3 separate regions of the Homo sapiens genome follow, and regions 2 and 3 are each linked to region 1. The links are contacts of gene promoters, found by promoter capture Hi-C in human tissues and cell types (Jung and others, 2019). All regions are on one chromosome and are shown on one strand. Each heading gives the region's core, a stretch centred on a gene start or on the middle of the fragment in contact. The rest is flanking DNA. Distances are from core to core; before and after follow the strand shown.

Region 1 (3,327 bases), core at 286-2,785:
ATGTTGGCCAGGCTGATCTCGAACTCCTGACCTCAGTGATCCGCCCACCTCCGCCTCCCAAAGTGCTAGGATTACAGATGTGAGCCACTGCGCCCAGCCACGTCCACATTAATAAACAAATGCCCATAAAGATTAAAGTCCAAGTAAATATATTAAAAAACGAAATGCTAAAAAAGGCACCTTTAAAACATTTTTGTTAGTTTTTCTTATACATTGTTTTCTTAAAAAAACAGATGTCTATGTGCAAAATTTCATTAATGAGAGGTGTATTTTTTTTTTAAACTACTACAGGGTCTTCACTAATATTAAAGATGCATCCAATGTGTCACAAGAAAAGGAATACATATTTCAAAGCAGCCATATCAACATGATAAAGACATAACACAACCGATATCACCTTCCAGATATGCTTAATAGTCCAGGGATATGCTGTAAGGAGAAACTACCCAAATCCATCATGAATGACATTCACCAACGAATCTTAAACAGAATCGGCTGAAATGCAAAAATCTGCTTACATAGCAAAGCCGCAGCAGAGCAAGCCTAAAACAGGAATACTTCCTTAACAAATACCACTTGGCATTTTTAATGGCTGCAGCAAGATATTTACAAAACTAACGATGCTTTGCAGATTCAGAAAAGGTAACATCCTTTAGATATAAATCCCTTTCATCTGAAACCCTCAGGTCTCTTAACAAATACTAAATTCCTTAGGCTCTGCAACACCTCCGTGTCAGGTAAATTTTTTGTTAGTGATTAAGTGACTTGTTCAAGGTCACAGAATGAACTGGAGGCAAGAAATAAACCCAGGAGGGTGGTCTGCAGCTTTATAATGCACATCACTGCTAGTAAGGATTCTGATAATTTCCAAGGTGGAGTGGCGGTGAAATTAACTTGTCCCACAACTCTAGGATGGAAGGCACTTTTTAGGGGAAAAAAAAAAAATCTTCTATTTGAGGAAGTCATAGTTTTAACTCTGACAAGCTTATAGGGTCTTTAAACTCAAACTTCACTAAAATCAAGTGTGACTGGGGAAGAAGAGAAACTGGGAAACAGTTTTAGGAGCTACAGTAAGGCCTGGGATTGTAGGCAGATTGCAGAAAAAAAAAAAAACCGGAAGCAAGAGGAAAGAGGTCAAAGTCGGGTATAAGTGTCCAAGAGAACGGAAGATTGGTCAAAGCCACCTTTTAAAACCAAAAAAACACACGAAACTCGCTTGGCAATCCTAGGTAGATGGCGTAAAAGACTCAAGGTTGGGCCTTTCCTCTCCACAAGCTGATTCTACCTTTAGGAGTTGTCCCACTCCTCTCCGCGGACAGAGCTTGTCTCCGGGGTAACCAGCAGCTGGTGGAAGGAAAGGCGTTCATCGTTCACAGCGGACGACTTCCCAGAGAACAGGTGCTAGGGCCCAAGACCCGCACTCACCGTGACGCCGGGCGCGCTTCACTAACGCCAGCCTTCTCGCCAAATGCCCATCTCCCAAGAACTCGAGGGAGAATTAGCCTTGGCTACCAGGACGGAAGCCAGCCCAGCTCACCCCCTTTTCCCGATTTGCATTGCGAGGCGACGCGTCGCGTCTCCAGACGTCACGGCAGGGGCGGGGCTTCGCGTGCGCTCCCTTGACTCCTCTCTCTTCCACCGCCCTCCCCTTTTCGGTGAGGGCCGCGGGGCGAGGGATGGTCGAGGGAGGGTCGAGGAGGACGTTATGGGTGGGCGGTGGCGGCAAGGGCGGGGTTTCTCTGAGTCGGGTCAACATAGTTGGCCGGTCCCTTACCCCCCGCACTGCACCCTGCATTTCCGGGTTGCAAGGCGGCGCCTGGGCCTTGTTGTGGAAGAAGCAAGGTTGCTCTTGCGTCCCTTTACTACGTTATTTTCCTCCTCAGATTGGAAATTAGAAAAAAGGGGATTTAACGCCCCTCTATTTCTGGCTAAACATTCTCTGAAGCCAAGCCTTTGGTCAAAGAAAAACAAGTATTATCCTAAAACATATTTTATGTACAATTTTTAACGTCACTTAAAAGGCCCCGGCGAGGCTGGGCACGGTGGCTCACGCCTGTAATCCCAGCGCTTTGGGAGGCCGAGGCGGGCAAATGATGAGGTCAGGAGTTCGAGACCAGCCTGGCCAACATGGTGAAACCCCCGTCTCTATTAAGAATACAAAAAATTAGCTTGGCGTGGTGGCGTGCGCCTGTAATCCTAGCTACTCCAGTGGCTGAGGCAGGAGAATTGCTTAAACCCGGGGAGCGAAGGTTGCAATGAGCCGAGATCGCGCTACTGCACTCCAGCCTGGGCAGCAGAGCAAGACTCCGTCTGGTTGGGCGAAGGCCCCGTGTAATAGAAACGAAATGAGACGTCTGAACTTTCTCGCGAGCTGATCTTTGTACTCTCTTAGAGAAAGGTGATTGGATGCTCCGGTTGCCTGTAAACATAAAATTGACTTGGGTGGAGCTTTAGGCAGTAGTCACTAAGTCCTCAGGAACATTCCAGGTGTCTCAGGGATGGGAAATCTGGCTAGCGAGGTCTAGTAAATGCTTTAAGTGAAAGTGTGTGCCACATGGTACAGTGTACACTGCTCGGGTGATGGGTGCACCAAAATCTCAGAAATGACCACTAAAGAACTTTTCCATGCAACCTGTTCCTCCAAAACTACTGAAATAAAAATTTTTAAAAATAAAAAAGGATAAAATAAAGAAAGTGTGTTCAATGAATTTGTGATGAAGGCCAGGTTGCAGTGGCCCAGGCCTGTAATCCCAGCACTTTGGGAGGCTGAGGCAGGAGGATCCCTTGATCCCAAGAGACAGAGACCAGCTTGAGCAACAAAGGGAGACCCTCATCTCTACAAAACAAAAATTTAAAAATTAGACCGGGAGCGGTAGCTCACGCCTGTAATCCCAGCACTTTGGGAGGCCAAGGTGGGCAGATCACTTGAGGTCAGGAGTTTGAGACCAGCCTGGCCAAAATGGCAAAACCTGGTCTCTACTAAAAATACAAACATTAGCTGGGCATGGTGGCGCGTGCCTGTAATCCCAGCTACTGAGGAGGCTGAGTCAGTGAATCGCTTGAACCTGGAAGGTGGAGGTTGCAGTGAGCCGAGATCGTGCCACTGCACTCCAGCCTGGGCAACAGAGCGAGACTCCTTCTCCAAAGAAAAAATCTAAGTTACAAATAGGATTTCCATTTTCCATAGAATCTAAAACTCCCCAAATTGCTGTGAACTACAGCAGTATTTTCTCCATTTGGTAAGAGACATAAGGACAGCTTAACTACCCTTCTTTATCCAAACTAAGTCAAAAACAGAACCCAGGTTTCCTGATTCCCACTCCCAAG
Region 2 (3,327 bases), core at 573-3,072, 180 kb before region 1:
TAGATGTCAAGTTGAATGTGTAATTTTTTTATACACTGAATCTGAAATATATTGGGTCTACTCCTTGCCGTAATTCCTTTTAGTTTTCAGTGGTGAAAAAGGCAAAATTTGTAATATAGCTATTGCTATTCCTTATTCTGAAATTCCTGTTCATCCTAGGAAATTTCAGCAAATGCAGACAAATCACTATTCAGAGACATTCACTATTAACAGTTTAACGTACATCCTTCCATCTCTCAAGATGTGTATGAACACATGTGTTTGTTTCAGACTTCTTGTAAATAAATATATACAGTAGTTTTATCAAAATATGCTTTAAAAATACATGCTGTTTCTCAATTATTTTAAAATAGTTGTCCCATTTTAATAAATATAAAAAGCTATTCTTAGAGTTTCTTATACTCCCTTAATCTTAGAAAATCAGTCTTCTCTTGGAACCAACCCAAATGTCCATCAATGATAGACTGGATTAAGAAAATGCGGCACGTATACACCATGGAATACTGTGCAGCCACAAAAAAGGATGAGTTCATGTCCTTTGTAGGGACATGGATGAAGCTGGAAACCATCATTCTGAGCAAACTATTGCAAGGACAGAAAACCAAACACCGCATGTTCTCACTCATAGGTGGGAATTGAACAATGAGAACACTTGGACACACGGTGGGGAATGGGGAACATCACACGCTGGGGCCTGTCATGGGGTGGGGGGCAGGGGGAGGGATAGCATTAGGAGATATACCTAATGTAAATGAGTGCAGCACACCAACATGGCACATGTATACATATGTAACAAACCTGCACATTGTGCACATGTACCCTAGAACTTAAAGTATAATAATTAAAAAAAAAAATCAGTCTTCTAAATTAAATATTTCTTGAGTAACCCTGCTAAGCTCACAAGATTATCTTCGCATCTTGAAAACAAGATTTTTAGGTTTTCTAAATATAAATTATTATATTTGCACTTTCACGCTGCACTGTTTCCCTCCAAGAGAATGTGTCTTCCCCCCCTTAATTGAGAATAACTGGTGTACTGTTTTTCACATCAAAGTATTACTCATTATTCACACATTTTGGCATTCTTATGGTATTTCAAGGAAAAATAGGGCAGTTAAGGTTTTTTGGGAAGAATTGGTTTTAGCCTAACATTTTAGCATGCAAAAAAGGTGTTGTAGCTCTTATGCTTACCAGGTTATTTAGTGACTCAGTGGTGTCTAGTTACTTTAATGGTAATGTAAATGGAAGAGTTAGGAAGTACAGAAGCCTTTATTTGTGATCTTCTCTAGAACCACCCTCTGCTAGGATGTCTTTCTCCTTGTCAGCTAGTCATTTGTTCCGTCATTGTGTGTTTTCCCTAGTGCCAGCTTCCCTTTACATCCCCTTTGGAAGTTTCATAATGGTTACTGTTTTAGTTCTAACATTCATTATTTCGTCATTGTGTATCTATTACATGTTAAGAGTTAAACTAAGCTGGGGCTACAAAGATGAATAAGACATGGTCCAGATCTTCGTGGAACTCAACAATTGAGTCTCTAAATATAGACATGTGAACAGATAGGTAGCTATTGAAAAATATGATAAATTGTTACGTGAAGATAGAAGAGCTAGTAACCAATTCTGTCATGAAGGCTTTCACAAAGATTATGGCATTTCAAAGGAGTTTAGAAAATACGTAGGATTTACATAGGTATACATGCACCATGTTGGTTTGCTGCACCCATTAACTCATCATTTACATTAGGTATTTATCCTAATGCTATCCCTCCCCCTGCCCCCTACCCCATGACAGGCCCCGGTGTATGATGTTCCCTACCCTGTGTCCAAGTGTTCTCGTTGTTCAGTTCCCACCTGTGAGTGAGAACATGCGGTGTTTGGTTTTCTGTCCTTGCAATAGTTTGCTCAGAATGATGGTTTCCAGCTGCATCCATGTTCCTGCAAAGAACATGAACTCATCCTTTTTTATGGCTACATAGTATTCCATGGTGTATATGTGCCACATTTTCTTAATCCAGTCTATCATTGACGGACATTTGGGTTGGTTCCAAGTCTTTGCTATTGTGAATAGTGCCACAGTAAACATACGTGTGCATGTGTCTTTATAGTAGCATGATTTATAATCCTTTGGGTATATACCCAGTAATGGGATTGCTGGGTCAAATGGTATTTCTTTACCCTAGAACTTAAAGTATAATCATTAAAAAAAAAAAAAAGAAAATATGTGGGATTTTTCTTCTGAGCAGGGAGTTTCTAACCAGAGGAAACAGCTTTGAAAAGCTTGAAGACAATAAAAGATTAAAAAGAAGAAACCTCCCTCACACTTTATAGGCTAGTGCAAAAGTAATTGCGGTTTTTGCCATTAAAAGTAATTGCAAAAACTGCAATTACTTTTGCATCAACCTAATACATCTTTTAATAGCAGACTAATGAAAATTATATGGTAAATGCTAAACTTCTCACACTCATTCTGTATGCATTATAAGAATCCTCATTTTTAAAAATTTTACTTTATTTTATTTTATTTTTTAAGATGGAGTCTCGCTGTGTCACCCAGGCTGGAGTTCAGTGGCGCGATCTGTGCTCACTGCAACCTCCACCTCCTGGATTCAAGCGATTCTTCTGCCTCAGCCTCCCGAGTAGCTGGGACTACAGGTGTGCGCCACCATGCCCGGCTAATTTTTGTATTTTTAGTGGAGACAGGGTTTCACCATATTGGCCAGGCTGGTCTCACACCCCTGACCTTGTGATCCGCCTGCCTCGGCCTCCCAAAGTGCTGGGATTACAGGCGTGAGCCACCGTGCCCAGTAAAATTTTACTTTAAGAATCCTCATTTTTATGAGCAAGCTGATACTCACATATTTTTAATTAATTAAATTCCTATCAAGCACAAGGAAAGTGGTTGTCATTTAGGCTTTATGTGAAAAGCTGTGTGAAATGCAAAGATGACTATGAATCATCAACCATAGACCTTGAATAATTTTAGTTTACGTCAATACAGATTTGCGTTTCATTTGGAATATTTGACTTGGCTTTTCCTTTAATTACAAGCATTTGTATTCTAAAATATATCAAATAGCATGAATAATGTTTTAATACTTTTTTTGCCTTTTAAAATCTTTTAATATACTTTTTGTTTTGCAATATTTTGTTTATTTGAAAGCATGCATTCTCTCAGTACTGTTCTCAAATGCTCAATGAAGGCATTATTTGTCCATTTTGCAAATAAGAACACCCAATTAAGAATTTTGGAGCGTGTTAGGCCTCTGCAAGTTGCAGAGAGCCAGCTCTTAATTTAAAAAGAAAATTTATTTGTTCATCTAACAGAAT
Region 3 (3,327 bases), core at 585-3,084, 160 kb before region 1:
GTAAATCTGCTGCTTTTAGCTTTTGCAAATGTATCTGTTCATCTGTATCATGTTTTAATCTGTATCATCACTTATTCAACATATTTTTCTAGTTTAACTTTTAAAAATCATACATTTTTGGTTCAAAATTAAAATACACACACTCTGAAAATTTTCTCTCTCACTCTGTTCCCACATTTACCACTATTTGTCTACCCTTTAGAGTTTCATGCTTATACAGTCATGTATGACAGTACAATCTTATACCTCTCATTTTTTACACAAAAGGTCACAGACAATACATGTTGCCTTGTACCATTAATTTCTCATTTACTATATTGTGGTGATGTTTCCATATCATAATTTTTTATAAGTCAAGATTATATATGCACATCGTTGAAAAGTTGAATAATTATAAAGGTTCCTTAAGAAAAATAGTACTACATTGTCCATCTCACCATCACTTTCATTTTCCTTTGGCATACTGAATTCAGCAATGCATATTATGACCAAATTGGGTTTATTCCAGGAATAAAAGTTGTCTTAACATTCAAAAATATAATTGTGATAATGCATGATAGTAGCAGATTAAAGGAGAAAAATCATGAGATCATCTTAACAGCTGATTTGGTTAACATTCAGTATTCATTCTTAATCTCAAAAAGGATATCAACAAAAAATTATCACAAAGCATCAAACTTCATAGTGAACTATTGAAAGCCCAAGATGGGGAGCAAGACAAGGATTTTGACTGTTACTGTTTCTGTTTTACATTCTAGCCAGAGCAGTAAAGCAAGTAAAATAAATGGTAGAGTGGGCCAGGTGGCTTACGCCTGTAATCCTAGCACTTTGGGAGGCCGAGGCAGGTGGATCACCTGAGGTCAGGAGTTCAAGACCATCCTGGTTAACAAGGTGAAACCCCGTCTCTACTAAAAATACAAAAAATTAGCCGGGCGCGGTGGCGGGCGCCTGTAGTCCCAGCTACTCGGGAGGCTGAGGCAGGAGAATGGCGTGAACCCGGGAAGCGGAGCTTGCAGTGAGCCGAGATTGCGCCACTGCAGTCTGCAGTCCGGCCTGGGCGACAGAGCGAGACTCCGTCTCAAAAAAAAAAAAAAAAAAAAAATACAAAAATTAGCTAGATGTGGTGGCGCACGTCTGTAATCCCAGCTACTCGGGAGGCTGAGGAAGAAGAATCGCTTGAACCCAGGAGATGGAGGTTGCAGTGAGCCAAGATAGCGCGACTGCACTCCAGCCTGTGCAATGGGAATGGGAGCGAGACTCCATCTCAAACAAAAAAGAAAAAGAGAAAGAAATGGTAGAAGGATTAGGAGGGAAGAAAAAGAATTCTCAGTATTTAAGTTAACATAGATGTTATTCCTAAGTTAGTATGCTTATATGGATTGAACATCCCAAAATCTAAAATGCTCCTAAATCCAAAATTTTTGAGTACTGACTGAAAGGAAATGCTCATTGGAGCGTTTCAGATTTCAGATTTTCAGATGCTCACCTGGGTGAGTATAATGCAAATATTCCAAAATTTAAAAAAAAAAAAAAAAACAGAAATCTGAAACACTTCTGATCCCAAGCATTTCTAGTAAGTGATCACTAGAAATACTCAAACCTACCTGTATTGCAGCATCCTCATATTTCAGTTTTAGGCCGTATCTGTTGACCTTCCACTAAAGAAGACAAGAATTGAACTCTCTTTTCTCACTCTGTATTCCCAGAACGAACATACACACACACACCTGTTCACCCTTTTCCACCAAGTATAGTTACAGTTTTGGTTAAATCAACACTCTAGGTTCTCTGGTATTTAACCAGATTTCTTCATGATATTCAGAATATAATGTATTCTGTCAGTTTCATCATATTGAAAACATTTTGCCCAGAGTCTTCTAATATATCTCAGTCTGGTCTTTTTGTCCTCTACACCTGGAATACAAATTTTGTTCTGAGATTTTCCTTTCTTCATTCTGAGGTTATCCTTTGTTGTACTGTAAAATTGTAAGCTTTCTCTAAGTTGATTTGTAACTTAATGACCTGACTTTTTTTGGAAGTAGGCTTAATTCTAAAGTTCATTTCGGATAAATAAGATATGACAACAAAGGTATTATCATAAATTGGGGAAAAGGATTATTCATTGCGGCACTGTTTATCATAGGAAGAGATTGGAAACAGATCAAATTTCCATCAGTAGGAGTTTGTTTAAATACATTAATGTGTATCCAATATGAAATAAAGAGAGCATCGAAAGATAATTGGGAAATCTTCTCTGTTCTGTAGAAAATCTCTAAGCTGGCTAGGCGCAGTGGCTCACACCTGTAATCCCAGTACTTTGGGAGGTTGAGGCGGGTGGATCACCTGAGGTCAGGAGTTTGAGACCAGCCTGAACAACAAGGAGAAACCCAGTCTCTACTGAAAACAAAATTAGCCGGGCATGGTGGCACATGCCTGTAATGCCAGCTACTAGGGAGGCTGAGGCAGGAGAATCGCTTGAACTCAGGAGGCAGAGGTTGTGGTGAGCTGAGATTGTGCCACTGCTCTCCAGCCTGGGCAACAAGAGTGAAACTCTGTCTCAAAAAAAAAAAAACAAAACTCTAAGCTTAAAGTTTAAAATAACAAAACCCTCCAGACATATATGTTTCTCTACCATTTATGTTAAATATTGGCGGGGGTATGTGTATACACATACAAATATCCCAGGAAGAATATGCAAGAAATGAATTACCTTTACTGTCCCCAGTCAGGGTGATTGGGAACAGGAGGGGGAGAAATTTTTTTTTACTTCATACTCTCATTTATTGTTGCCTTTTCACAATAAATTGAATAGTTTACTCAAAATAAATTGAATAATTTATGGGCCTCATGTAACTCTTGTGTTCAGCGTGTTGAGGAAAGGTTGAGTTATCTTATGAAGGTTATACTGTGCCTAGAATACTTTGTGTTTGGTTAGTTGGTATTCATAAAACTTCAGTTGTGTAGCTTTTTTATATTTTTTAATTTTCTTTTAGCAGAAAAAATCAGTAGAAGGCCATCTACCGAAGACACTCATGAAGTAGATTCCAAAGCAGCTTTAATACCGGTTTGTAGATTTCAACTAAACAGATATATATTATTAAATACATTAAACTTTTTTAGATAAGATCTACAAAGTGGTGATATTTGGGACTATATCAAAAATTCAAAAAAATTTTTCTTAAGAAAACTGACTTTAGCATAGTAGCAGTTACAGAAAAGTTTCTTACAGTGAATAGTCAGGAATTTTAAAGAAAAATTTATGCAGAATAAAGGCAGGAATCTCTTTTTGTTTGAATTGAAGCTAATTATATGAACTCATTTCCAGCT

The links. Contacts are between HindIII fragments. The study calls those that stand out against the background at their distance.
Region 2: a fragment that was not itself captured here is called in contact with the fragment with the promoter of USP8 in region 1 in 1 of the 25 tissues and cell types used here (liver).
Region 3: a contact is called between a fragment that was not itself captured here and the fragment with the promoter of USP8 in region 1, in 1 of the 25 tissues and cell types used here (IMR-90 fibroblasts).

What each region holds. Positions count from the first base shown.
Region 1 is chr15:50,422,613-50,425,939 of GRCh38, reverse strand. USP8 (ubiquitin specific peptidase 8) reads right to left here and starts at 1,535. Exons shown (of 20, transcript NM_005154.5): 1 at 1,426-1,535. RefSeq lists enhancers at 1,288-1,677, 1,716-2,712 and a silencer at 1,788-1,837. The HindIII fragment of the contact is 18,008 bases long and covers 1-3,327 here.
Region 2 is chr15:50,600,842-50,604,168 of GRCh38, reverse strand. All of the region lies in intron 21 of TRPM7 (transient receptor potential cation channel subfamily M member 7), which reads left to right. Among named protein-coding and RNA genes, the nearest start is that of USP50, 56 kb to the right of the region's middle. The HindIII fragment of the contact is 6,844 bases long and covers 1-3,327 here.
Region 3 is chr15:50,582,826-50,586,152 of GRCh38, reverse strand. TRPM7 (transient receptor potential cation channel subfamily M member 7) reads left to right here. Exons shown (of 39, transcript NM_017672.6): 29 at 2,994-3,064. Among named protein-coding and RNA genes, the nearest start is that of USP50, 38 kb to the right of the region's middle. The HindIII fragment of the contact is 4,205 bases long and covers 1-3,327 here.